Linked DNA regions of Homo sapiens: all the other regions are linked to region 1. Evidence: promoter capture Hi-C in 16 types of primary human blood cells and fetal thymus (Javierre and others, 2016). All regions are on one chromosome and are shown on one strand. The core of a region is centred on a gene start or on the middle of the fragment in contact, and the rest is flanking DNA. Distances in the headings are between cores, read along the strand shown. Region 1 holds the start of PCSK5 (proprotein convertase subtilisin/kexin type 5). Region 2 overlaps PCSK5 (proprotein convertase subtilisin/kexin type 5). Region 3 overlaps PCSK5 (proprotein convertase subtilisin/kexin type 5). Region 4 overlaps PCSK5 (proprotein convertase subtilisin/kexin type 5). Region 5 overlaps PCSK5 (proprotein convertase subtilisin/kexin type 5).

Region 1 (2,674 bases), core at 114-2,613:
CCCTTCCGGGAGCCCCCACGCGGACCTCGCTTAAGGCGAGAAAGCCTAGAGGTCTCCCCTAAATCTGCACTCACACCGGGGCCGGCCCCCTCTTCCCTCCCCCTCCTTTCTCCTCCCTTCCAGCTCCAGTCCCCGCGCCTCCGGAGTCTCCAGCGCCAGAGGTTCTCTCGCCCAAGAGGAAACTTCTTTCTGGGCTAAATTCAGGTCCGAGCAGGAAAGGCTTTCCCTTCCCCGCAGGCATCAGAGGCGCGCTCACCCCCTATCCCCCAAAAGACCTAATTTCCCCCTCTCCCCACGATCACCCTCTCTGAGACTGCCTCAGATTACTAGTGCTACTCGACTTTTCAGGTCAAAAGGTCCAGCCGTCTCTGAAGCCACCACGGGGGCACTCTGGATTTTTCCCGAGACCCTACCAGTCCCGCGTGGCTTGGAAAAGACAAGTAAACAAAACACGGACCCGGCAACTCTGGGGTGTGTGTGTGTGTGTGTGTGTGTGTGTGTGTGCGTACGCGCGCGCGCGCAGGAGACAGAGCATCGCCCAAGAGTTAGGGCAACAGCTGCTAGAGCACATCTGGAAGAGGGGGAGGGGGTTCCACGCAGAGGGGACAAGAAGCCCCCAGTGGCTTCAGGGCCGAGGGCTGGGCTAGCCTGTAGTTCGTTACCTGTCCTATGTTGATGAATCCGTACTTGCTGGCGATACGGTTGGCCTCCGGGAAGCCCCCGGCGATTTTGACTGCCCAGTGGTTGGTGTAGACGCGCGTCCGACACACGGGGAGCAGGCAGCCCCCGAGCAGCGCCAGCACGCACAGCAGGTCCAAACGTCCCGGGCAGCAGCAGCGGCTCCCCCAGCCCATGGTCCCGGCGCCTCGCTGCTCCCTCGCTCGCTGGCTGGTTCCGCGCACTAAGGGCGCGCACAACTAACTTCTCCGGCCTGCGCCGCCCGGCGAGCAGCCCCGGGCCGCCGCAGCTCGCAGCCCCGGGCGATCGGCAGGAGGCGGCTAGCCCCGGCAGGGAGCAGAGCAGCGAGCCTTACGCCGGCTCCTAGACCATCCCTGGGGCTGCCGGGACCTGTGCTCCCAGCTCTCCGGCCCGTGGGGCGCTCGGCGATGCTCCCCGGCTCGGACGCAGGAGGAGGCTGAGTGGGGCGGGCGTCCTCCGCAGTTGGGTTTCGCCCGGCTTGGCTCCCGGACTCTCCGACTCGGTCTCGCTCCTCCCGGGGCCCCCGAGCGCGGCGGAGATGACCAGCGGGAGCGGTACAGGCAGCGACCGGGCGCCCCCTCTGCTGGCCCGGGCTCCAAACGCTCGCTTGCTCGCTCCCAGCGCTCCCTCCGGCTCCGAGCAGCGCGCGAGGATTCTGAGTGGCAATGGCAGCAGCTCCTGCTCTGCATAAATGACTTCCCCCGCCCCCCTTAACACCCCTCCTTTCCCACATCGCCCTCCTCCTCTCCCTCCTCCGCCCTCTTGAAAGCGGCCGCAGCCAGGCGCTGACGAGGTCCTAGCGCCTCCGGGTTCGCCCAGCTGTAACCTCCAGGGTTCCGGGCAGTAAAGGCAAGTCTTTCCAAAGGACTGAGAAGAGCGCTCCGAGATCGTGGTTTTACTCCCTTCTCTTCCCTCCCTGCTGGATTTGTATGAATTTACCGCCACTTCCCGAAAGACTAAAGAAATTTACACGCCGGTGCGAATTAACCGCCCTGAAGATTCATTCATCCTCGTTCTAAACGTCCTTAAATAACTAGGCATTTAAGGAGGTCACTTACGTGTCAATTGCCGAACAAATAACTCGAGATTTTCACTTCGTTAATTCTTCATGCTTTTCAGCAGCTGTTTATTTTACACTTTCTGCTCCCGGGAGAAGCTACCACACAGGACAGTAAGTCGCATCGACTCCTAGAATTGGCTCGAAAGCCAAGTCTGTTGCCTGCTCACTTTCGAAATCTGCGATACTAGGCAACGCCACGGGAGAGTACAATTCCGGCCTTGGAAGTGAGGAAAGATGTTTCTATGAATATTTGGTGTGCTAGTGGATGGACATGTTGGGCCAAGGAAATAACTCCATTCATTTGTTGGATTGCGTCTGACGAGGGCTTCTTTTTCTCCACCAAGGGAAAAGTTTCCCAACTTTTCCAAGCACAGTCCTGTAACAGTGAAAGACTTTAATATGAAAAAGACCACAGAGGAAGTTCAGATGAGATATGTGGCGGCGTCACCTTCATTACTCTATCATGCACTGTGACTGCAGCAGGCAGGAGGGAGCTCAAATTAACCCTCTTCTCGCTTCTCCTTTACAACCTCCCTGCCTTCCTGGAGCGGGGGTGGGGCACAGGGTGATTTACTGTGACAAGAAAAATTATCCCGTATGAAATAATTCAACTGACTTTAAAAGTATTCACTATATCCCTAACTGTCCTCCTTTCTCTCCTCCTACCATGCCCTATTTCTTTCTTCCTGTTAATTTAAATGTGTTTGAGATTAATTAACTCATCCCACCTATAGCTTTTGGTACTGATTTTTTAAAATCTGAAAGATACCTGCAGACTTAAAATTCCACTAGTACCTTTGAGCATAGCATTTGACATTTTACATATTGTATAAGGTATGCTATATTATTTAATCTTGAAAACAAACCCACAAAATAACATCATCCCCACATTATAGCTGAAGAAATAGAAGATCA
Region 2 (2,674 bases), core at 47-2,546, 250 kb before region 1:
TATGCCTTGGTAGAAAAAATGAGCTGGGGGGGAGGTGGTATTTTCACAAGACAGGTTGACGATAATCATGGAAGACTTCAAATGAAGCCTTTTCACCGCTGCTCTGGGCTCACGTATCCAACATATGCCAATGTTTACAAGCACTCCACCCCAAATATGAAACTTCTACTGGAACTCAAATGAAAGAATCATACATTTGAATTCATGAAGCTTCCATCATTTTTGTTGAATGTAAAAAAAAGTACCTGAAAAGAATTATAGATTTGTGCTTGGCACTTATGATCACTTAAGAGTCTGAGATTTTACTTCAAACTTTGTTTAGAGAGCTGGTGATAAAGATAGTGATGAAATAGCCACAGATATTGCAATCTTATTTTTTTTAAGATGGAGTCTTGCTCTGTCGCTCAGACTGGAGTGCAGCGGCACAATCTTGGCTCACTGCAACCTCTGCCTCCCAGGTTCAAGCGATTCTCCTGCCTCAGCTTCCTGAGTAGCTGGGATTACAGGCACCCACCACCACACCCAGCTAATTTTTTATTTTTAGTAGAGATGGGGTTTCACCATGTTGGCCAGGCTGGTCTTGAACTTCTGACCTCGTGATCCGCCCACTTCGGCCTCCCAAAGTGCTGGGATTAGAGGCATAAGCCACCACTCCTGGCCAGCTATTGCAAAATTTTATTTGACTCTAGTAACACTGAGTTATTTTGCCAATGAAGAAACAGGTTCTGTGGGTATCAAGACTGAAGCAATGGCTGCAGATTAAAATGAACAGAACCATCTCTGGATGCATACTTCTTAAAAGATACCTGTGCCTTTGTTAGCTCTGGAAGAAATCACAACAGAATTCCATGCAACAGGGATGCCCATGTGGGACTTCTGTCGATTAGAGAAAGGTACCTCTTTCCTTAAGGTGGACATCATCCCACTGCAGGGCACATTCCTTGGTGACTGGATCCAAGGCCAGATTTCTGTCCCCACCCACTCAACCCTTTAGTTTGGCTCCCTTGTGCAGTTAACAACCTATGCAACCAGGTGTGGCAGCTCTGTCAAACAATCAGACATTTCTCATGTTTTTAGCTATCTTCTCTGATTCTTTCATGATATGTGACTGCAATTCAGTGGGAGTTTTAGGCCTCTAAGATGCATAGAATTGCACTTTGGAACCAAGCTGGATACATATCTTCTACTTTGGCTGTAAATATACTTCTGAAGGTAAAACATGAAAAGAAGCGGATGATTTCCTGACAAAACCATCCCATACAGTATATTAAGAAAGCATATACATTGTAACCTCCGGTGGGTTCAGAAAAACAATACAGCTTCTTAAGACTACTAAAAATTCTAAGTTGGCTTCAGGGCCGAGAAAAAGAATATGAATACAATACTTCGGAAGGAGGAAAAGTCATTTATAAACCCTAAGTGCTTCTGTCATTCTGCTTGCATAATAGGTGTACAGCAACTCAAGATGCTAACCACAATTATGTATACTTGCTCTCTTTAAATGTTTGTGGAGTTATATGGCAAATACAAAGACTGCAATTGTATGCTAAAAAGAAATTCAAATATGGGAAGTTAGATGGCTTTTCGGAAGTCATGGTGAGCAATAACAACCAACGAAAAGACTTTGGTCAAACAAAGGAAATATGTGAAGGCTTCTCAAAGCACAATTTCTGACCTGACATTTTTCAAGAAGCAATCTTCTCACCACACCCTTTGCCCGGGGTTTATTAAAGAGTCATTTCAAAAAGCACTTCTTTCTCTTAAAAAAAAAAAAAAAGTGGGATGTAGCAAAGATGATTATATATCCCAAATCTACAACTTTCCTCATTTAGAAGAAGGCCAAGAGATGATAAAAAATGTCGCTGAATGTCTCAGTCTTAAGGTCACAAATACATAATTGCATACTAAGATAATACAAAATGATCACTGCAAGACAATTTCATTTCAACCAGTCAGTTTGTTACACACATGCCATTTTGTAAGACATATCATAGGAACAATGGATTCGCACCATCAGTGTAAGAAATAATATTCTTTTTGACATCAGACTAGCAACTTGAATCAACTTGTTTGAAAGTCATTACTATCATCTAGCTCACTTTCTCAATCACCGCAGCGGCTCCAAAATGTTTTTCAAATGAAATGAGAACTCCTAACTGCAGGATTCAAGTAGCTTTGCTTTTGATTTCTTTTAGATTACTTTCCTCATCACACCATACCTGTCCTTTTTGTACACTGAGCCCTCTCTTTTGCCCCTTCCCCTGACCTGTTGCCTTCACCATGGCTGTCTCCTCCAGTTATAATTTCCAGTCCCCGAGAAACACAAACAAAAGAAGGCATTTGTTTAAACTAAAAGAAACTACGGTATTCCAGATAAGCTTGGTTCCCCAACTTTTGGTAACCCTCAAGTTCTCAAACATCTTTCACCCTCTCACTGTACTTATTTGTGCTTTATTTAGGTTAGGTGTATGACATTAATATAATTCATAATCATTGGCAGATTATGCTTTTTCCAACACTTTTGAGGCCATTTATTGTTTATTGAAATCCAAGTAATCTTATGAAAAAGAGAAAATAAGGAGGTTAATAATTTATCCAGAACCATCAACTAAAATCACTGACAATATGAAATGAAAACAATAGCCCAAATTAGAGAAAACAGACTACAAAGAAG
Region 3 (2,674 bases), core at 89-2,588, 220 kb before region 1:
CTCTTTGGGTCTGGTTACAATTATTTCACTATAGGGAATAGTTCAGGACAGTACATCCCTTCTCTGTCCGCTAGGCCTCAAGTCGAAATGTGCATTGTTTTTACCTTATAAACCTTTTCAGCTCTCCTCCCTTGTTTTCTTTTAATTCTCTTCACCCTCTTCAGGCTGTATACCCCAAGCATTCATACCAGAAATTTCAGCAAAATTTTAAGCCCAACATACAACACTCCAATACACAAAAAAACTCTAAGAGTATATGAAAGGAAGGGTGTGTGGAATACCTGCTTCTTTACCCTTGTAACTGTGTGGAATCAGGGCACATATGCTTGTATTTCTCTCTGTGCAAGTACTTTCTAAGTTCTAATTGAAATAAATAAAACTCTCTTAAAAGGAAAAGCTTGGTATGCCCTCTGCAATTTTACCTCAATAAGCAAATACACTTGTGCTCCCTGCCCACTGCAGCATCTCATAGAGTTGAATGTGGCCCTCGGGAAAATTTTTAATGAGACATTTTATACTAAAATGTGTTTTTAATTTAAAAAAATACACAGATGATAAGACTAGTTTACAGGATATCAGTACTAAGATGCTAACCCCAATATTAAGAAATGTTTATGTCTATCCTTCCTATGTGGCCTCCCTTAACAGTGCTCAGTTCTAAAAATATGAAGCACCCCTCGCCCCAGTGAGTACTTCAACTCAGAGCTGGCTTGTTTAAAACTCCAGAACCCTTCTCGACTGTCCCACATATTAACTTCTCACAGTCACTGTATCCCAAATATTCTGGTCATTTCCCTACAATTTTCCAACGCTGGAAACATGTAGGTAAGAGAGATTATAATGAAAGGTGAAACAAAGACATAGAGTGGTTGATTCATCTGAATTATGTAAGATTTATATAGACGGACTTTTTAGGTTTACAAGAAATGCAGATGGTCAGTTTAATTTCCTGAGAAAATTTTCAAGATGTGATTTGTGAAATCAACAGCATACGGTGTGAATCATCCTTTGGCTCAACACTCCTTTAACTTCTCACACTTTGACCTTTCCTTGTCTCGAATGATCCCTTCCTCCAAAGACAAAAGGTAGAGGGGATTCCCTTGGAAGGTGAGAGAGGGAATAACATTCATGTCTTTATTTTAGCCAGGTGAGGTCCACTTCTAGCAAATGATAAATCAACAGGATGAGAGACGAGTTGAGGCAGTATGGGAGAAAGAAGTCACTAATGAATATCAACTAAAGGATATGGACGGTAAAAGTAACTAATTGAGCAATTGAACTTCTCTAGGACTCAGTTCCATTGTACAAAAGGTAAGGTTGGACTAGACGAATTAATTTAATATTTGTTGAGAATGGACCTTGTTCAAAACATTATGCTTAGGTGTCGTGGAGGATACAAATTTCTATGGAACCAATGTTCCAATTTGAATCATCAAAGCTGGGCATTTTTATTTTCATCCAAGTCCTGCACCCCCTACAACCCTTCCCCCAGAACGATTTCATTGACTTCCTTAAATAATTTGCATATATCTGTTAGTGTACATTTGCTTCCCTAATGAGAATATAAAATCCCCTGAAAGCAAGTGATATATAATATTTTATACATATTTGAATTATGTCCTGAGTAACTTAGTGCCTAGTATGATGCTTTAATTTTTTTGTAGTGTTCAATATATTTGTTATATACTCATAAATAAAGATAAGATATAATCCTTACTCTCAAGGAATTTAAATTTAATTTGCAATAGGAGGGAAAAGATAAGTAATAAGGAGAAAGTAGGTGAGCCTACCTAGAAACATGTGAATGTGTATATGTCTGTGTATATATAAGATACCAGAGGCAGCTAATGTTCAATATGCACCAGGTGTATTTCTACTGTAGAAGAGCAGCTGTTAGTTTAATTTATTTTCTAAATTTAGATCTAGATATATTGGGTTTTCTCACAGCAGGGTATTCTTGTGGCCTCTGAGATATGAAATGTAAGAAAAAGGCTTTGCGGTCATTTAAAGCAAGAATTTGTACGAGATTCTTTATACCAATACCCTTTTAGGAAGTTTTAGATAATTTCAGAAGTTTCAACCTGACTCAGTCCCCTTTATTTACCATTCACTGTATAGTGTAACATTTCTTGATTACTGAACATATATTCTTCAATTTTCCAATGAAAGACCCTTTGCAATTAGAAGCAGAAAGGTTTCTTTGATGAACTTAATTTTTGTATTTTCTGAGTTGATGCTGATATTGTTACATATGAAATATTCCACTAAAATAAGCTTTTCATTGCTAATAATTGCAGATGGGTGAGGAAAACTTTCAGTACAACTTATTATTCTGAGCACTCTGTACTTTCATGAATGTTAGTTATTTTGACTTTATTTTATAAACAATTTTATAGAAAACATCATTTAACAGCAAGCTCTTTTATTTTTTTCCCCCTGATAGATCTATAGCACTGGGAACATATACTAGGACCTAGATGCAAAACACTTTTCAAACATAAGGTGTTCTGCCAGGTTGCTAAGCTAAAATTAGTACAGCCATCTTTCATTTTGGTTTTTCATTTAATAAACCTGCTTCCTTGCATACTCATTTTATTTGAACTTTTTGAGTTAGGCTATGTAAAAAGACATCATTTTAAGCAGCAATCGCCCAAATGATATCCTATAATCACTG
Region 4 (2,674 bases), core at 67-2,566, 200 kb before region 1:
CAAAGTAGATAGCACTAAATGGATTGTTCCATATTAGGAAACTGATAACATTAAGTAATAGGCCCAGTATCATATAACTAGGACGTGGTAGAGACAAGAGGTCGAGACCCTGCATCTGATCAGAACCTCTGGATCTGTATATGTCGACTTGAAGAGACACAACAAAACAACTTTGGAATGAGGCACTTCCACTCATCCGTGATGTCTCGCAAGCACCGCCTCAATACCCAACTTATCAAAGCCCCTTGTCATTCCACTCCCCATCTTTTTTGATATTCTTCCTCTCGGGGAGAAAAGAGCACAGTCCTCTGTGTAAGCTCTTTATGCCATGGTTATTCCGTACTCCATATTACCTGGATAAAGGGGGATCCAGGGATAAGGGGAAGAAGTTGGAGAGAGACAAGGACACTTACTACTAATGACTTAGTAGCTAAGAAATAAAGAACTGTTCCTATTTTTAAAGCTCAAGGACATTCTGACTAGCATTTCCGAAATAAATCTTGTTGCTTTATAGAACAGCGTTCATTGAAAGAAATAGATCTCATCTAGAAACATAATGTAAAGACCAAAAAAAAAAAAAAAAAATTAAAAAACCTCACGAACACCACCAAAACCCCCTTTAAAAACTACTGTTTTTTGTAGCACTCACACAAAACGTTTGTTCCAGAATTCTGAAACATATTGCTTCTTTAAGCAATTTAAATAACTTTTTGATAACATTTATCATAACTTGGTGGGAGAAAGCATTCTTGGTGATGCACAGAGATAATGTAGTCGTGGTAAAGGTGTATGAAGACATCTATGGGATAAGAGCTTACTTAAGCCCCAGACTTGTTTTTTCAATCAGTTCATCCGAGTAAGATGGAGCTGAGGTTAGGGAAATTAATTATATGGAATCGAGTTAAGACTCAGGGAATAAGATCATCCATCCCCTCAAAAAATCCACAAGTAACTTGAATGAGACAATATGAGATGTTTTGTCCAATGCAATGTAGAGAGTATCCAGGTTTCTCTTGTTCTGCTTCTACACTTCGAATATTTCATAATTGTGCTCTCAGAATAACTAAGGTAAACAGAGGAACTATTATATGTATTTTAAAGCAAACGCTCATTAATTATGCTTTATTTATTTGGTGATTTGAGTAAAGGAAACAGTTCATTAATTCCACTTGTTTCCAAGCAAAAATTCCAGGATTAAAAATGCTTACCAATGGAAAGCAACAGCTCCCTAAAGCTGATCTCAGCAACCAGCCAACAACCAGTGAGTGGTCTCCACCAGCACCTGCTGATGTCCAGCACTTCCAGCAGCCCAGTTCCTGGCCCTGCTACTGGTCTCAATCTTTACGCACCTGCTTTAGCCTGTCAGCTGCCAGACCCACACATGCAGCCTAAGAGACACTCTAAGGAAGGGCTGTCTAAACATCCTCAGACTGGCTTCCAGACAACACTGTATGGGAGTACCTTCATTATTCACATTCTATGCTACTTAGCCACTCAAAAGATGGCTGATGAGAGAGATGGGAAATACAAATGCAGTTATTTTCTACTTCTCTGGTGAGAAAAATGGAGCAAAGAAGGCTTTTGTGGATAGTAACCTATTTCTGCTCATTTCTGTCTTCTTGCCATTTCTTATGCGACATGACTTCACTCCCTCCTCTTCCTCCACATCTGAACCTCACCAATCTATCTTTTCAGCCCCATACCAGGTAGTCCGTATTATGATTTTCTGTGCACACAATAGGTCACTAAACCAAGAAATTTTTAATGTTCTTTTGACTTTTTAATGATGCACTGAAGTTATCAGATGCAGTTATTAGCAATCATATTAATTTTACCATTCACAAATGAAAATCCATTTTCTGTGCTTCCTGAGCATATCAAATGCAGCCGACCTCACTTTCAAAAAAATAGAGAGCCTAATAATGACTATAGGATCAACTGTAAATGACAAAATTTTAAGTGCCATTTATAAGCTACTTTTAGTCATGATATTGTTCATATCCTAGTCCATGAATGGAGAGCACGTTGCACTGAATTTAGGGACTTCAGGTCAGTTTTCTAAAGTGACACTTGGAAATGGTGAGTAAGGTGGTCAAAGACTAGTGTCAAGGACAATGAATCAGTGCTGCAAATACAGAACTTGCCTACAACCCTATCATTAGCTAATTTTATGTTTATTGTGTGAATAGAAAGAAAAAAATTGAGTTACTTATCCACCATATCTGCTAGAATATAAATTTGGTAGAACATCAACTCACAAAAGGCTTAGTAGAATCAATTTCCTTATCGGAGATGCCCTTTCTTCATAAGGGTTGATTGACACTGAGGATTTACACACTTAACACTGCTTCTTAACTTTATCAAAACAGTGTACAAGTTGGTGTGACCCTTGGCTCCTGACAGCAATATCACAATTGTGTAGATTTCTTTTACTTTGTTTATTTTCACAGTATAACTGGAAGAAGAAAATCAGTCTTACATGGAGAAAGAATAGTAGAATACGTGTGATGAAATAAAAACTGGGTGTGTTTACCAATGGAAATAAATATGCTTTCATACAAAGAATTCTATTTTGATGAACCTTTAGATATTCTGTATATTCAGGAACTTCAAATAATACAATTTTGGAGCTGAATAATGTCCTATGGATATTATGTAAAGTTGGACACATAAA
Region 5 (2,674 bases), core at 96-2,595, 140 kb before region 1:
AAAATGGCTGGTGCCTCGATCCCAGGTTCCAGAACTGAGCATTACATTTCTATTACTTATAAATTACCCAGTCTAAGTTATTTTGTGATAGCAGCCTGAACTAAGACAGCTGTATATGGAAAGTGTCAGATTTTTTTTTTTTCCACAATTGCATGTTTGGTATACATTAAGCCTCTAGTAATGTACATGTACACTTGTAGTCCACGTTATGTAAATTCATTTGATAATCATTGATCAAGTATCTACTATGTAGTATACTGTAGATGTTATTTTGCAAAAGTATTAGAGAAAAAAATTTGAAAATATTTGAAAATCAAATCAGCCTCTGATATTGACCCTCATTTTCTTCGTTAAGTTTTGTCTGACCTACTAAGCTATAGGAAAACTTTATCTTAACATATTTGGCCAAATCCTTGGTACAAAGAAAAAATGTTTGTACGTGTTAAGGCCACAGACTTACAGTGTGTTTTTTTCCTCTAGTACTATTATAATAAGTTAACATATTTCCCCTATATGCGGAAAATGCTGACTATATCTTTTGGTTGCTTTGGAACACTATCTCCTCACAACAGTCCTTGTCTACAGAAATGGGAAAGGGAAGGACACATTTTGGTTTCTGCAACATGGCAACATTCGTAAAACCAGAAATGATGTGTGACAAGAAACTAAAGAACTAGACGAAATTCACTTCCATTCACCCTGGTTAAAGCTTCCTTGAATCAGAGATAAGAAACAACATGAAAAATCTATTCCTTTTAGAAAACAAGTCTTTAACCCAGAGGTTGGTTTATTTTGAAAAGGAATTAGACTCTGGGCCCACATACCGCTCGTTCAAAATATAATGCTGTGGTTTCAACTCCTGCTAAATGTTGCTGTGACTTTTAAGCAGAGAACTTCTAAAAGGAAGTAACCTAGGGAGGGGCTGATATAACTCAGACATCAATAATTCATTTTATTGGAAATAGGAGTAGTAGTATGAAATGCTAGCAGACTGTTTCATTTGCAGGGAGGCATTTTCTATTTTAAGCCTAGAACAATGCAGTCAGCTTTATTTGGCAAGCTAATATGAATGGAGGCAAAGCTGAATCGAAGGATGGGTTTTTATGATCTCCTCTAATCACGCTATTTCTTTAGCATCAGTTATTTAAGTCTGACATACCACCATTTGGGAACTTGCAAAAGTGACGAGAAAGGGATTTTTATAACTTTTGTACTTCAGAGGTGATTTCCTTCACTCCAAAGCCTTGGCACTAGAAATGTAATCATGCAAGTCTAAGAGATGATTTGCATAGTTTTGAGGCTAGATCCTCTGTTAGTACTAAAAACCCTTCAGGCATTAGAGTTTCTTACTAAATTTTCTCCCAATTCAGCCCATTAATAATCTATACTATTTCATCATTGATTCCCCAGGTATTTAGCACAGAGCCACTCGCCAAGCAGCGTCTTAATGAATACTGCTTGAATGAATAAACAAACGCAGGCAAGTATGACATAATTCCAAATATGTTCTGAAGCCTACTGGTCTGATTGTTCAGTGAGGAGGCATTTGCATAGCACATGCCTCAACTTCCTTATTCTGATGATAATTACAAATTCCTCACCTTCACTATTTTATATCAAATTCAAGGACTCATGCTCTACTAAGGGAGATGGGAAAATGGAATTAAAGAAAAGCAGATTTACTGTAGACGGAAAAGAGCCACAGCTCCCAGCCCCAAGGAAGCAGACAAACCTATCTCAACTTCTAACCCTGGAAATAAACCTTAAGTCCCCCAAGGACGCAGACAAACCTATCTCAACTTCTAACTCCGGAAATAAACCCCAAGTCTTAATTTAAATTTGAAGTGTTCATAGGCACACATATTTTGAGATAACTGTAATTTTTAACTAGTTATTTATCAAGAATTAGATATATGAATAGAACACACAATTATAATAATAACAACTGTAATTATGTAGCATCTATTATGTAGTAAGCTTGGTATTTTACACATTTTATTGATAATCTTTAGAGGTATTTTATTATTATTATTTTTTGAGACAGGGTCTCGCTCTTTCGCCCAGGCTGGAGTGCAGTGGCACAATCTTGGCTCACTGCAACCTTGACCTCCTAGGCTAAAGCAATCCTTCTATCTCAGCCTCCCAAGTTTCTGGGACCACAGGTGCATGCCACCACACCTGGCTATTTATTTATGTATTTAGTAGAAACAGGGTCTCCCTATGTTTCCCAGGCTGGTCTCAATCTCCTGGACTCAAGTGATCCTCCAGCCTTGGCCTCCCAAAGTACTGGGATACAGGTGTGAGTCACTGTGCCCAGCCTAGAGGGAAGTATTATTATGCCCATTCTAGAGACTTTTTAGAAAGTACTGAAAGCTCAGTTGTTAGCTCAAAAGACCATAAAGATAATCAAGGAGAGCCAAGGCTAAAAGTCAACTTCTCTAAACTACAAAGCTACTCATTTCCTAACTCTAGGTGGCCACTATCCAAACAGAGTTATCTATCTGTGGATTCATGCTTAAAGATAGATCCATTGATCATATCCATTATTATGGTCTAATGAGCAAAGAGGGCATTTTAATCCTAAATGCCTGACTACATGCTCTTGGTCAGCTGAGAAAAAAAATCAGGCAGAACTACTGAGAGGAGCTAAAGGTAAATCTATACCCTCGGCACT

What was found. The method cuts DNA at HindIII sites, captures the fragments that hold promoters and counts their contacts. A CHiCAGO score of 5 or more calls a contact.
Region 2: a contact is called between a fragment that was not itself captured here and the fragment with the promoter of PCSK5 in region 1, in 1 of 17 cell types (non-activated CD4 T cells). The highest score is 5.0, in non-activated CD4 T cells.
Region 3: a contact is called between a fragment that was not itself captured here and the fragment with the promoter of PCSK5 in region 1, in 1 of 17 cell types (non-activated CD4 T cells). The highest score is 5.2, in non-activated CD4 T cells.
Region 4: a fragment that was not itself captured here is called in contact with the fragment with the promoter of PCSK5 in region 1 in 1 of 17 cell types (non-activated CD4 T cells); the score reaches 5.1 in non-activated CD4 T cells.
Region 5: a fragment that was not itself captured here is called in contact with the fragment with the promoter of PCSK5 in region 1 in 2 of 17 cell types (fetal thymus and non-activated CD4 T cells); the score reaches 6.1 in fetal thymus.

What each region holds. Positions count from the first base shown.
Region 1 is chr9:75,889,362-75,892,035 of GRCh38, reverse strand. PCSK5 (proprotein convertase subtilisin/kexin type 5) reads right to left here and starts at 1,363. Exons shown (of 38, transcript NM_001372043.1): 1 at 663-1,363. The coding sequence starts at 854. The HindIII fragment of the contact is 12,342 bases long and covers 1-2,674 here.
Region 2 is chr9:76,142,832-76,145,505 of GRCh38, reverse strand. The region is part of intron 10 of PCSK5 (proprotein convertase subtilisin/kexin type 5); the gene reads right to left. Among named protein-coding and RNA genes, the nearest start is that of RFK, 250 kb to the left of the region's middle. The HindIII fragment of the contact is 2,168 bases long and covers 213-2,380 here.
Region 3 is chr9:76,111,642-76,114,315 of GRCh38, reverse strand. All of the region lies in intron 9 of PCSK5 (proprotein convertase subtilisin/kexin type 5), which reads right to left. Among named protein-coding and RNA genes, the nearest start is that of PCSK5, 220 kb to the right of the region's middle. The HindIII fragment of the contact is 1,877 bases long and covers 400-2,276 here.
Region 4 is chr9:76,086,842-76,089,515 of GRCh38, reverse strand. All of the region lies in intron 7 of PCSK5 (proprotein convertase subtilisin/kexin type 5), which reads right to left. Among named protein-coding and RNA genes, the nearest start is that of PCSK5, 200 kb to the right of the region's middle. The HindIII fragment of the contact is 2,725 bases long and covers 1-2,674 here.
Region 5 is chr9:76,031,052-76,033,725 of GRCh38, reverse strand. The region is part of intron 5 of PCSK5 (proprotein convertase subtilisin/kexin type 5); the gene reads right to left. Among named protein-coding and RNA genes, the nearest start is that of PCSK5, 140 kb to the right of the region's middle. The HindIII fragment of the contact is 1,268 bases long and covers 712-1,979 here.